Regions from separate parts of the Homo sapiens genome. Here regions 2 and 3 are each linked to region 1. Evidence: promoter capture Hi-C in 16 types of primary human blood cells and fetal thymus (Javierre and others, 2016). All regions are on one chromosome and are shown on one strand. The core of a region is centred on a gene start or on the middle of the fragment in contact, and the rest is flanking DNA. Distances in the headings are between cores, read along the strand shown. Region 1 holds the start of ACADL (acyl-CoA dehydrogenase long chain). Region 2 has its middle 88 kb from the start of MAP2. Region 3 has its middle 110 kb from the start of MAP2.

The links. The method cuts DNA at HindIII sites, captures the fragments that hold promoters and counts their contacts. A CHiCAGO score of 5 or more calls a contact.
Region 2: a contact is called between a fragment that was not itself captured here and the fragment with the promoter of ACADL in region 1, in 1 of 17 cell types (fetal thymus). The highest score is 5.8, in fetal thymus.
Region 3: a fragment that was not itself captured here is called in contact with the fragment with the promoter of ACADL in region 1 in 1 of 17 cell types (fetal thymus); the score reaches 5.9 in fetal thymus.

What each region holds. Positions count from the first base shown.
Region 1 is chr2:210,224,080-210,228,384 of GRCh38, reverse strand. It overlaps ACADL (acyl-CoA dehydrogenase long chain), which reads left to right and starts at 2,938. Exons shown (of 11, transcript NM_001608.4): 1 at 2,938-3,198. The coding sequence starts at 3,122. The HindIII fragment of the contact is 4,947 bases long and covers 1,236-4,305 here.
Region 2 is chr2:209,333,570-209,338,271 of GRCh38, reverse strand. No RefSeq gene overlaps it. Among named protein-coding and RNA genes, the nearest start is that of MAP2, 88 kb to the left of the region's middle. The HindIII fragment of the contact is 665 bases long and covers 2,638-3,302 here.
Region 3 is chr2:209,312,436-209,316,807 of GRCh38, reverse strand. No RefSeq gene overlaps it. Among named protein-coding and RNA genes, the nearest start is that of MAP2, 110 kb to the left of the region's middle. The HindIII fragment of the contact is 2,152 bases long and covers 750-2,901 here.

The sequences.
Region 1 (4,305 bases), core at 1,689-4,188:
TCTCTTGAACCCAGGAGGTGGAGGTTGCGCAGAGCAGATGCTTCTTTCTCTTGATTGAAAGAAAGGAAGGATGGGCATGTAGATATATTTGAGAGAGGAGATGGGAAGTTGAAGAAGTTTGCAGCAAATTGAGATAAGCACAGGATGGCTAGTTTTGAAAGAAAATAAATAAAGCTCTTGAATTAAAAATGTGATTCATGGCCCACATAGTTTTAGTTCATAAGCTGACACTCAACAATATTAACATTAAATTATAGATTAATTTGACTAAATATTTTCCCTTTGATAAAGACACCTATCACCCAAGGAATGTACTTTACAGAAGTAATAACTTTCAGTTTCATGTGGAGTTTAAGCAAATACATTCAGGTTTCTATGGAAATAATGTTAAACCTATGTACTCAAATAAAGCTAAAAGTGTTGTGTTTTGTTTTTTTCTGTTTGTTTGTTTCTGAGACAGGGTCTCACTCTGTCACCCAGGCTGGACTGCAATGGCGCAATCTCGGCTCACAGCAGCCTTGACCTCCTGGGCTCAGGTGATCTTTGCACCTCAGCCTCCTGAGTAGCGGGGACTGCAGGCATAGGCCACCAAGCCTGGCTAATTTTTGGTAGATATAGGGTTTTGCCATGTTTCCCAGAGCCTGGCCTAGAACTTCTGGACTCAAGCAATCCACCTGCTTTGGCCTCCCAAAGTATTGGGATTACAGGAGTGAGCCACCGTGTCTGGCCTTAAAAGATTGTTAAATGGAGACCAGGTGGAATTACTATGGCAAAGGGCATGTATTGCCAGCAAAATCTTCCCATGAAGGCTTATCTTACCCTAAATACAAATCAGCTATGAAGAGGAATAATTCTGTATTATGCAAGCAAAATGGTTTAGCAATCATCCTTGTGACATTGTCCAAGATCTATATTACAGAATTACAGATGCTTAGATTTCTTTAGTCTAAGACTGTAATGCACTAAAACTTATGCAACACTTCTATATTTGATTAGATAAGTTTTGCTTTGCACCAGGGGAAATAAATAAATACTTTTTCTAATGAGCTCTGTATACAATGACTATAAAAAAAAAAAAAAGGAGAGCCCTAGAAGATAAATTTTATAACTTTTCTTTTACTTTGAGCAGTTTTTCCTTATAAATGTGTATGATTAATATTTTGGTCATATTATATTATAGGTATGGCTCATAGAGAAGCAATTTAGAAGCAGATTAGGGTTTGAAGTTGGAAGCTTAAACAAATCCATTCTTAATCCTGACAATAAAGTTTACTGTCAAAATTGTTGGTTACAGATACTTAAATTGCTATTTATTTTTTTAAAGAAAATGTTCCAAAACATAAAACAGTAACTAGTTTTGAGACCATTGTCCTCTATAAGGGAAAAGAAAATATTTCAGACACATTTAACAGATGCCAATTTCAGTTTCTCAATTATGTCATCAAGGTATTCTTCAAACCAAATATAAAAATATATATATAATTTCTAATCACTCACTTTTTATACATTTATAAACAGGCAGATACAGATACAGATACAGACACAGGCAGTTATTTGGGTTAAAGAAGCTGGCATTTTCATGGGGTTTAGAAAGGACCGTGTAGTCCATGACATTTACTACCAGGTATCAGAGGAAAAGCATAAGCAGTTCCTTTTCTTGAACATTTGCCTTCTAATTGAATAGGCATTGGAATACACAAAGTAGAGGGTTTTTTTAAAGGATTTGTTCTTTCTTTTATCTACTACAAAATATGAGTATTTCTCAATGATGACAATAATAATTACCATTTATCGAATGTTTATTGTATTCCTGTCTTTGTGCCAACCACCTGACCTCCGTTATCTGAAAAATCTTTCCAACAACCCTATGACATAGATATTGTTATTCTTCATTTACAGGTGAGTAAATGGAGGTTTACATTTGTATGGAACATGTTCTGCTACTTGAGATAATGGGAATAGGAGCCTAGGAGGGCTAAAAGCAAGGAGCCAGCAAGTCTAGACACATTCCAGAGGACATTATGTCAGTCATGCAAGCCCTGCCTCAGCTTTCTTCCCAACCCTCAGCCTTTTTTCCCAACAGTATATAAATAATGTGGTGTTCCTTTCAATACAGGTGTCTCTAATGCTAGTTTGTTCCATTCTTGGTGAAGTTAATTTGAATCACATTTGGTTAGCATGTTTATCAGTTTTTTTCTACTGAGTTTCCTTTTGTGAAGTAAGAACAAATATGTTTATGAATGTAGAGTTAGCTGTGCTAAAATTAAATGAAAAGTCAAGCAAACTACCCAGATAGTTTAAGCCAATCACCCAGGATTTCATGAACCCTTTGAGCCATTTATGTTTCCCTTGAGGGATATTTCACATCTTTTACCTGAGAGTTCTACAGGGCATGCTTTTATTAGTTGAAATGTCACTGAGGGCGAGAGTAATTGTTCAACGGATGTACTTGAACTTGGACATTTAAGAATTAACAGAACGGGCTGGGCGCAGTGGCTCACGCCTGTAATCCCAGCACTTTGGGAGGCCGAGGCGGGAGGATCACGAGGTCAGGAGACCGAGACCTTTCTGGCTAACACGGTGAAATCCTGTCTCTACTAAATCCTGTGTCGGATTAATTCGTTCTACTTGCTATTACCAATAAATAGCATGGGCTCCCAGAGCTATGCCTGGCTAACTCTATCACCTTCAAGGGTTTGCTCAAACTATTCAGCCTACTTTAAGTAAATCAATTTCCAAGGTTACAAAATAAACTTCACGTACATTTTTATGGTTAGGTATTTGCGCGTATTTGGGGGCTCCATAGCTTTCATCCGTTACTCAAAGCGCTTCAGGACGCTAAAAAGGCTCAGAGCTGCTTCGATAAACAAGAAAGAATGCTGCAAGCAAAGGCAGCAGTTTCGCTGTAAAATCCTATTGCTGACAGCCAAGACGGGCGTATTCCCTCGCGACCAGCCTGTGGCGTGGTTGGGGCTCCGGAAGGGCGCGCGCGAGCGCTTTTTTGGGAGGACACCACAGGTGGACGCCTCAGCTGATCGTCCTCCCTCCCGGGGACCCTGCCCCGAGTCGCCGAGTAGCCGCAGAGTCGCCTCCGTCGCCCCGCCGCCCCTGTGTTTCGGACATGGCCGCACGCCTTCTCCGAGGGTCCCTACGCGTCCTGGGCGGCCACCGTGCGCCGCGCCAGCTGCCCGCCGCGCGGTGAGTGCCAGCCGGGACTTCCGCGGCTGCAGGCCGGGAGGCTGTGGGGTGGGGCAGCGAGTCACTCCTGTCGCTGGCTTGAAGCAGGGCGGTGCGCGCGCGGCTGGGAGTGCTCCCCAACTCCGGCGCCGGGCTAGAGCTGGCCTCCTTTCCTGGATCCCGCGGACTGGGTGCAACCAGCATCTGGGCGGAGGAAAAAGGGGTGTCAGCCGTGCCGCCCCGAGAACAGACCGCCGAGCCCACGTCGGGGAAAGCCGAAAGATTTCTCCAGAAGTTCATTCCGGAGCCCCAATCCAACCCGTCTAGTTCAGCGGCCTGCAGTGGGACCCGGGAGCCTGCGTTTTGGGAGGAGGTGGTCACCCCCTGGGCCCGGCTGCAGGAGCGCGGGCTGCGATCTGTGTCCCAGTTCGAGCTGTGAACCCGGCGTTCCCCACGGCTTAGACTCGCCGCGCGGTAGTGAACTTGGGACCCGGACTCAGTGCCCGGGCTGCGGCGCGGACCAGAATTGTCCAGGACAAACTGGGCTAGAAATGACCTGGCGAGGGTTCCATCAAACAAGGAAATTAGCTTTAGATATATCAACAAATCTAACTAAATACAGAGGATTAATGAAGACAGAGTCTAAGTAGTTCAGTGACTACTAAGGTGGTGTTTATAATATGATCAAAAGTTTCAGATACTGTCTGATGCATAAAATCTATTCACTGGGTAAACAAATTGGAAGCATGGAGAATTCATTATTTAATAAGGGTGAAGGAACTGGCAAATTTGCGAATGACAGCATTGGTGTAAGCTACTCTAATTTTATTTGAGAGCTATGAAACAAAATGCCTACTTTTCCTGGGGAGATTTGGGAAGACGTCACTGAGAAGGTGACTTTTCTTTAGGATACATACTTAACTCTTCCTTGGAACATTATAAGACAGTGATCCTCAAACTTTTTTTTTTTTTTTTTTTTTTTTGAGACAGAGTCTCACTCTGTCGCCCAGGCTGGAGTGCAGTGGCGCGATCTTGGCTCACTGCTGCAACCTCCGCCTCCCGTGTTCAAGCAATTCTCCTGCCTCAGCTTTCCTGAGTAGCTGGGACTACAGGCACGCACCACCACAC
Region 2 (4,702 bases), core at 1,721-4,220, 890 kb after region 1:
CTTTAAAAGAAGAAATTTGTTAAAATTTACTAAGAAAATGATGGAGTAGAGAGAAAGAGAAGCCTCACAGATGATGTCAAAAGTTTGGCGTGAGCAACTGTGTGAATGGCAGTATTGTTTACTAAGATGTGGAAGAAAAAGTGAAGAATAGGTTTACAGGAGTGGATCAGGTTGTATTTGACATATTATATCTAAAATGACTATGAGACAGCCAAGTGGAGATGTCAAGTAGGCAACTGAATATGCAAACCAGGGGGAAAAGACAGAGCAGGACATACATTTGAGACTCTTTAGTGTATAGATGGTATTTAAGTCATGTTGCTGGTTGAGATCACTTAGACATTAAAGTTAATTAGAGATCCAGAAGACAAGGTAAATTGAACCAAAAAAAAAAATGAGCAAAATCAGCTTATAAGATAGGAGGAAAACCAGGATCATATCGTGCTCTGGAAACCAAGTACAAAAAATGTTTCTATCATGTACAATGCTCCTGAGATGTCCACTAACAAGAGGATTAAAAATGGCAAAGTGGGGCCAGGTGTGGTGGCTCATGCCTGTAATCTCAGCACTTTGGGAGGCTGACGAAGGCGGATCACGAGGTCAGGAGTTCAAGACCAGCCTGGCCAACATAGTGAAAACCCCTCTCTACTAAAAATACAAATATTAGCAGGGAGTGATGGCGGGTGCCTGTTGCCTGTAGTTCCAACTACTTGGGAGGCTGAGGCAGGAGAATCGCTTGAACCCAGGAGGCGGAGGTTTCAGTGAGCCGAGATCATGCCACTACACTCCAGCCTGGGCAACACAGCGACACTTTGCCAAAAAAAAAGAAAGAAAAAAGAAAGAAGAAGGAAGGAAGGAAGGAAAGAAAGAAAGGGAAAGAAAGAAAGAAGAAAGAAAGAAAGAGAAAGAAAGAAAGAAAAAGAAAGAAAGAAAGGCAAAGTGGATTTAGTAGTATGGAGGTTCTTGGGACCTTGAAAAGACGAATATTAGAGGCAATACTAGATTAAAGTAGGAAGAATAAATAACACAACATTACATAACATCCATGTAAAGCATCTGCCTTTCAAACCAAATTGCAAAAGGACTGCCTCATGCAAAGATTCTATAAATTCAGGATAAAAAGACATTGCAGTGAAATTTCTTTAGACTCAATTTTCTCCAAGGCATCAAAATGGTAGATGCACAGTCCATAGTGAGATGTGAGACTTAAAAGAGAAGGTAGCAGAATATTCGTTTCCATCATTGGCTGACCATCTACCTCTAATATCTAAACAGATCTTGGATAAGCTAAGAAAAAATGATTGGAAATCCAAAGAGGATTTGTGGGTAGAGTATTGGTATTCTATGATTCTTCCTGACAGCAAAAGTCAAGATGCTTTCTTTTTCTTTCTGACAAGAGAAAGGGTTTGGAGGAAGCCGAGCTGGTGAGCTTAATCTATTATCCTTACTACCACCATGTTTGAGTAACTCATGCCTGAGAAACTCAGAAGGCAAGGCCTGGGCTGGCTTTCTGGAGATGATAAGAAAGAGGCTGCTGTTGCCTCAGAACCATCCTACACTCTCAATGGAACAAGGCAAAATTGTGTAATTTTCTCCTCTACTGTACCTGTTGTGGGCCATGTCAAGAGAAAGCCAGCTTGAGCTTGTCTTGGCTCTTGCCTAAGAGGAAGTATCATAATTTGTGGTATAATAACCTGGCCAAAATCTCAGTGGCTTACAACAGCAAATATTTATTATTTTCTTGGGTCAGCTGCACGGTAATTCTGTGGTCAGCTGGCAGCTCATCTAGGCCTGGATTGTCAAGAATAGCTTCATAATCTATAGCTTTATCATTGACTAGATGTTAGCTGGGTGAAGGTGATGCTATGTCTTCATTCTCCAGAAAAGCTCTAGCCTGAGCTTTTCACAGCATAGTGCTGACAGAGACAACTGAAAATTTCAAAGTATATGTTTTCTTCAAGCCATTCAATTGTTTTTAAATTTTTCTTTTATGTAGGTCTTATATGTTAACTGCAAATTTTATTTCTAGGTTATAGTATTGTTACTATTATCAACAACAATAATAATGAACATAAAATTACTTTTTGACATTTATTAGCAATTTATTTTGCAGTGAATGTTCAATAAATAGGCCAGTTAATTTTCAAGGTATTGATTTGGATGTATCTCTCTAAGACCTACTTAGTTATTTTTTATTTATAGTCTGTATTTTTTGTATACTTCCGTGTCTGAGCTTATAGATGTGAGGATTCTACACATCTGAGGATTAATTTTATCCCTACACATGTGAGGATTAATTGTGTCCCTATCTATTTCCACTCATATTTCTTGCAGTTTTCTTTTATTATTTTAATGATCTGTAACTTGATGTATAAATACTATTGACAGGTATGATTTATCTTCATTTGTGATTATAGGATATCTTTCTTTTTCTCATTTCATGATTATTACTTTGAACTCAAGCCTAAATGCCTCTTGTTCCATATTCTTATTTTAATAATAGATTTCTTCAAACTTGATAAAAGTTTTGCAATTCATACTTTTGCCTAATTCAGACAAAAATTAAGCTGTTTATATTCAATTAATGAATTATCTTTATAGCCACCTAATTACTTATAACATTGCAAGAATTAAGCTTCCAAAATTTCAAGGGAACAAATTTCTATTTAATATCTAAAAATATGTTTGAAAATGCGTGTTTTAGTAGCTACCCTCTTCACTAGCCCTAAGAATATTTTCTTCTTTGACTAAAAGTGAATCTCCAAGACAAAAGTAAATGTGGCTGAGGATTTCCTAGAAACTGTATACATTAATTTAAATATTAGTGTATTGACATGTCAGAGAAATTATTTTCCTTGCAGCAAGCACTATACAAAAACTATTAATAAGCTAATAACAACTTAATAGTACCTATTCAGTAATGGAATCATTGTTTGCCAAGACTGTATGCACTTACATTGTGCTAAGCATTTTTACACATTGTCTAATTTAATTTTCACAATAATATAAAGCAAGTATTTTTATTTTTCTTATTTACAGATAAAGGAACTGAGGCTAAGAGAAGTGACCTCTGACACCCAGCTAACTAGTGACAGAGGTGAGATTTGGGCTAGGGGGGTTTGATAGCAAAGGCCATGCATTTGGTCTGTTTTGCTTTTAAACTTAATATACCTTTTTAAGGAAATAACTTGAATGAATCAAGGGATATTAACTTAATTAGGAAGAAATGTATTTACAGAAAAATTGGAACTTTTTTGCTAATTCAGGTGAACAGGTTTTTTGCTAGACTGAATAATGAAGCTTCACTATTCTGAGTGTTTTTCTATTATGACACTACAAATGATTTAATAATTTTTAGAATTTGGATTGTATCCTAATTTTCTAAAAACTGTTTATCTTTTATTAAGATAAAAAATAATCTTAATAATTTGCAAAGCTTTTAATAGAACTAAATTATATGAATTTGAGGCCCCATCTGAAACTCAGCCATGAGATGGCATGCTGAAATCTCCAGGGGAGTGTTAATGCTGGCTTTCACTGGCATCGACAATCCACAGCGAGTGTGCAGGGCAAGGAGAGTTTTTATTTCCAAGTCTAAACCGAATGAAATGCAATTAATTCTGCTGTCTGGGCCGCTGGTGCCCTCTACAGGTCAAATAGATGCTATACAGCTTTAGGTTTCACCTGTTAAAATGTCGTTTTAGCGCTAAAAGAACTCTGGGTCCCATTGCATAGTAGCTTCTTTACAGGGTACTGTCACTCTTATTGGCATAAATAATAGAAATATTGAGTAAAAATCACCTAAATAGCCTCATTCATGTGTCTAGCAGTTGGATAGGTGTTAGCTGGGATGATGGTGATGACGTGTCTCATTCTTCAGCAGCCTAGAGTGGTTATTCATATGGTAGCAGTCACAGGAACAATTGAAAATACCAAAGAGTATGTTTTATTTATGCCTTTCAGTTGCTTATTTAAATTTTTTATATAGTTGTTATATAATTGTAATGCAACACTCATATATCAATGTCTTAAGTTATTCAGTTACATCAAGATGATTATTTCTTTAAAAAAGTATGGGGAGACAGAAGTGGAGATGGCAGTAGTACAAGTTTTATTGTAAAGATCAAATGAAATAAACTATGTAAAGCTTATGGAACATAATAGGTCATCTGAAAGCAATTATTTTTACTTAATCAAATTTTAAAGTTTTATGTGAGAACAAAACAAGCTAGGGTGAGGGTGGAATGGTTGGGGGTGTGAAAAACGTAGGCAACACAGAGGAAGGGCTTACTCAGTCCTCATTTAAAATACCTCATTAAATATATCATGTGTACAAAATAGAAAAAAACACAAAATATAAGCATATTTCAAGTGTAATTAGGGAAAACGCATTTGTGGTCATTATTATGTATTATTTTTCTACATCAGAAATCTAAGTTTTCAGTCTTTGTTTAGAGTAATCCTTTATTGGTTTTTTACATTTTGTAACACAGATTAGTTTGGAGCTCCTAACTTTACCATGGTAAAGAGACAATCTGTAGTTCTGTTTTCTCATCTTTTACATGATAAGTAATAGTGAAGAGTCATAGTGTCCTAACTTCACTTGTTTTTTAAAAAAAATTTTTCTCCCATTTTGTAGGTTGCCTGTTCACTCTGACGGTAGTTTCTTTTGCGTGCAGAAGCTCTTTAGTTTAATTAGATC
Region 3 (4,372 bases), core at 576-3,075, 910 kb after region 1:
TATACATGTATGCATGCATATGTAAGCATTTATTTATCTCTAAGCATTTCTGTTCTTAGTTTTGGGTACTTACTACTATCCACATGTATTAATTCTTAGAAACACTTTTTAAAATCCAAATTTTCAGAAAAATACATGCAAACTTTTCTTTTTATAAACAAATATTAAAGTTGTGGCAGATTTACTTATCAGTCTTCATTTGTTATTTCTTAGTAGCCAGATTTTGCATCCCCACCCTTGCGATAGCTTCATGGTGAACAGAATACCCTTTTCCATTCAATTATTGCAGAGTGTGGCCACAAGACTTGTTTTGGCCCATGGGCTGTTAGTGGGTCTGAAACAAGCAGAGTGTTGAAGAGTAGTTAGTCATATGGCTTGGTTTTCTCTCTTCTATTAATGTCACTGCCAAGAAAAGAACATATTCTGGGTAGCCTATGGATCTCAGACGAATGAGAGGCCCATGGAGCAAACCAAACATATTCCACAGTTTAAATACGAGCCTTCTTGAGCTTATCTGAAGTCAGCTGAGCCTCAGCAGATCTTGAGTCAGATGAATAATAAGTAATTGCTTCCTATTGGACACTACTGAGTTTTAGAGTTGTTTGATATGCATATTATTGTGAGAACAGTTGACTAATATATGCAAGTATATAAATAATTTGTTAGTATTTACTGGTTTTAAAATAATGGATCACAAAATAATTATTTCTTTATTTTTTATTATTAGTCATAACTCCCAGACTGAAGCTTAGGGCTAATGTGAATTATAAGTAAATTTCAAATCAATTCCTTTGGTTCATGTGTCCGTATTTCCTAATTTCTTTTTCTTGTTTTTTTCTCCTGCTGAACAGGACTTTCCCATATCATATTTTTCGTAGAAAAATTCTACAAAGTAATTTTCAATGCACTATCCTTGAATCTGAGAAGTAATATATTTAGCAGAATTCAAAGGAAAAATATTTTACCTTTTTAGACTAGTGACTCATCTGGCAGTTTCTTATTCTACTGCTGATTATTTTTCAAAATACGCTCTTACGAGTTTTAAAATAATTATTTCCAGTTCCATAGTAATCACACTAATTAGAATTTTCCAAGCAGGTATATTCTTAGAATTTATTTTAATGGTAATATAACAATCTGAAACTCATAATGTGCACTATTGCACCTTAAGTATATTTATTTTGAAAATGAACACTTCAGTGCATTATCTGCTGAGAAATAGTATCCTCATGATCTCAAGAACTATTAGCACATACCTAACTTAGTACCATGAAGTGGTTTCAGCACATAGACACGAAATCAAATTCTAAGATATAATAAGAGCAAGACCACAATGTTGAAGTAGTGTTTCACAAAATCAAATTCTAAGATATAATAATAGCGAGATCACAATGTTGAAGTAGTGTTTGCAAGGTAACTTTTTAGATGCCACAATTTGAGACCTAATTATTTTTGAAGACACATACAGATTCTTAATTATAAGCCTCTCATCACATTGAAATTTTATTATTTCTGGTCTTTAGGATTCCTCACTGTCCTCAGTCTCTTCAAACCAATCTGACTGCCATTAATTCATTTATTGTCCTATAATAATCCAGTGTTAATTTATTGGAGTAATAAAGCAACTAAGTTGGACTAGATGAAAACAAGAGATAAAAAACCATGGTAAATTGGGTTATTCTAAACAGAAAACATTGAAACAACATGTGAATGCTTCATTCTCTTATACTTAATTCATTTTACAGTTTGTTCCCTTTGCAGGAACACATACTCCGAGCTATACCTCAATACCTTGATAATGTAAGTCTTCTTTTCTCACAAGAAGTAGCGTAACTATTTTTTTGTGAATCCTTCTCTGACAGCCCTACATAGACATAAAACTTTGCTGCTCTGCTTCCCTTATTGTTAGCTATTTTATTGTTTGGTAACTGTCTTTCCATTAGATGGTGAACTCTTTGAGAACAGAGAGTATGACTCATTCTAATGTAATGTTGTGAACTTTTCTGATGCTCCAAATACATCTGTAGAGTTAAAAGACAATCACAGAGATTGAAAAACAGGAATCTAGTTTATCCCTTCTTTTACACTTAATATTGAGAAAATAAACATCTTAGTTAAAAATCTTTTGTCAAGCATATGTATTGCTAAATATATTTACTCCTAGTTTGATATTAAGTTGACATAAAAATAAAAATATGCCTTTGTTATTTGAGCACACAAATTTCTCACATATACTTAACAATTTTTCGAATTACCTTGAAAACATTACAGGTACGAGATTTTCCCCATGAACTGAGCTATGTAATGCAATCAAAATACTATCTTTGAATGCATGAAAATTATGTTGTCTTTAAAATAATTTCCAAATCCACAATAAGCAGTAGTACCATTTCCTCACTTACCTATCTCTTTATAGACATTTTAAACTACATATCTTGGGAATTTCTTCTTTTCGCTTGATTCTTCATGGTTTTTATGCTTTGCCAAAATCTTGTTACCTTCTACTCCTCTCAGCAGTTTAAATTATTTTGACTGACAGAAATTATTTATTACTCCTTTCTAAGGAAAATTTGAGTGTTATATGCCATTAAAAAGCAGTGAACTAAAGGTGGTAAAAGACAACAAATTTTCTACAACAATCCCTTTCTATGACAGACACCATTCAACTAATCCCACATTAAATAATTTCAGCATGCAACTACAAGAATTAAAAAGGGTAAAAATATATTGCACCAATCTTGTATCTCCACACATGTAACTGGAAATAGACTACTGAGGACATTAGCTGACAGGAGATGGAGTGATAGGATATGCCAAGTGCAAATACTTTCCAAACCTGCAGAACTAAGTTAATAAATGTAATTTAAATTGTATTAGGCAGTTGTAAAAGTTAAAGAAGCTTATTGGTTCTCTGTTCGGACTTTTTAAAAGGAAAACTAATATTTGCAAACTAACTCATGAGAAAGAACTGTCCATCCTCTTATAATCAAAAAGCTGCTAACAGATTTATATAAGGAATCACCGATCTTGCTGAAAAGTGAGCCATTTTACATACAGTGGGAACAGACATTTCAGGAACTTATTACATGCTTCTGAACCACTTTATATCATAGCATACAGAGTATGCTATCATCTCACACTAATCTGTGATATTTGACTTTTCAAATAATTTAATGCATTATATACAAATGATTTGAATTTCAAATGTGAGTACATGATAAAATCCAGGTGTTTAATCTTTTCAGAGAAAAAGAACAAATCAATAGTTCTCTCAGAAACTTAAATGAGAGAAATGAGTGTAACAAAAAGGATTTAAGTCACATGATTTTTGAAAATTGCTGATTTCTTTATCATTGTGTTTGAGAATGACATGAATCCTTTAGCAGCTAAAATTTCAAAGAAATAGTGGTGCTGATTTTATAATTTTGGGATTTATTTTCTTGTTCTATCAAATAATTTTATCATATGAAAAGGAGTGACAGTTACAGATTCTAAAGGCACAAATCAAAAATTTAACATCAGAGAAAAATACAAAGTTATTTTAAACCTGAGCACTCATTAAAAAAACCTTAAATTTAATCTTAGGAGATTTAGTAGCATTACATCATAACAATTTATTAAATAACCTTAGCTACCCAGGTATCTGGGAACTTTTTAAAAAATGGCTCTAACTTTTGATAACCACTTTATCATATTCAACATTGTTGAACTGCAATTTATGAGAAACTATAAGATGCCATTTTGGGTGCTCAGCTTACTGAAAGGACCAAGGTTATATGTGGGGTTTTTTTTTTTCAATATTATATTGAGCTGGTGTCTGCTTAAAGCTTACAAAATACTAGCCTATTAGAAATAGCCTACTAGAAATAAAATCACTCTTTTTTCTTTCTTTCTTTCTTTTCTTTTCTTTTCTTTTTTTTTTTTTTTGATGGAGTCTTGCTCTGTTGCCCAGGCTGGAGTGAACTGGCATGATCTTGGCTCACTGCAACCTCTGCCCCCCAGGTTCAAGTGATTCTCTTGCCTCAGCCTCCCAAGTAGCTAGGATTACAGGTACCAGCCACCACACCCTGCTAATTTTTGTGTTTTTAGTAGAGACAGTGTTTCACCATGTTGGCCAGGCTGGTCTCAAACTCCTGACCTCAGGTGATCCACCTGCCTCAGTCTCCCAGAGGGCTGGGATTACAGGCGTGAGCCACCACACCTGGCCAGAAATAAAATCACTTCTTAAAATAAATTGGTTTACTCTATTTTTGTTTAAAACTTGGTTAAATCTTTATGAACTCACTGATGGAGCTAGCCACCTGTCATGATCACTTTTATGAAACTGACATGAAAGTCTTGCTAACAGTAAGTCATAGCTCTAGAAGAAATA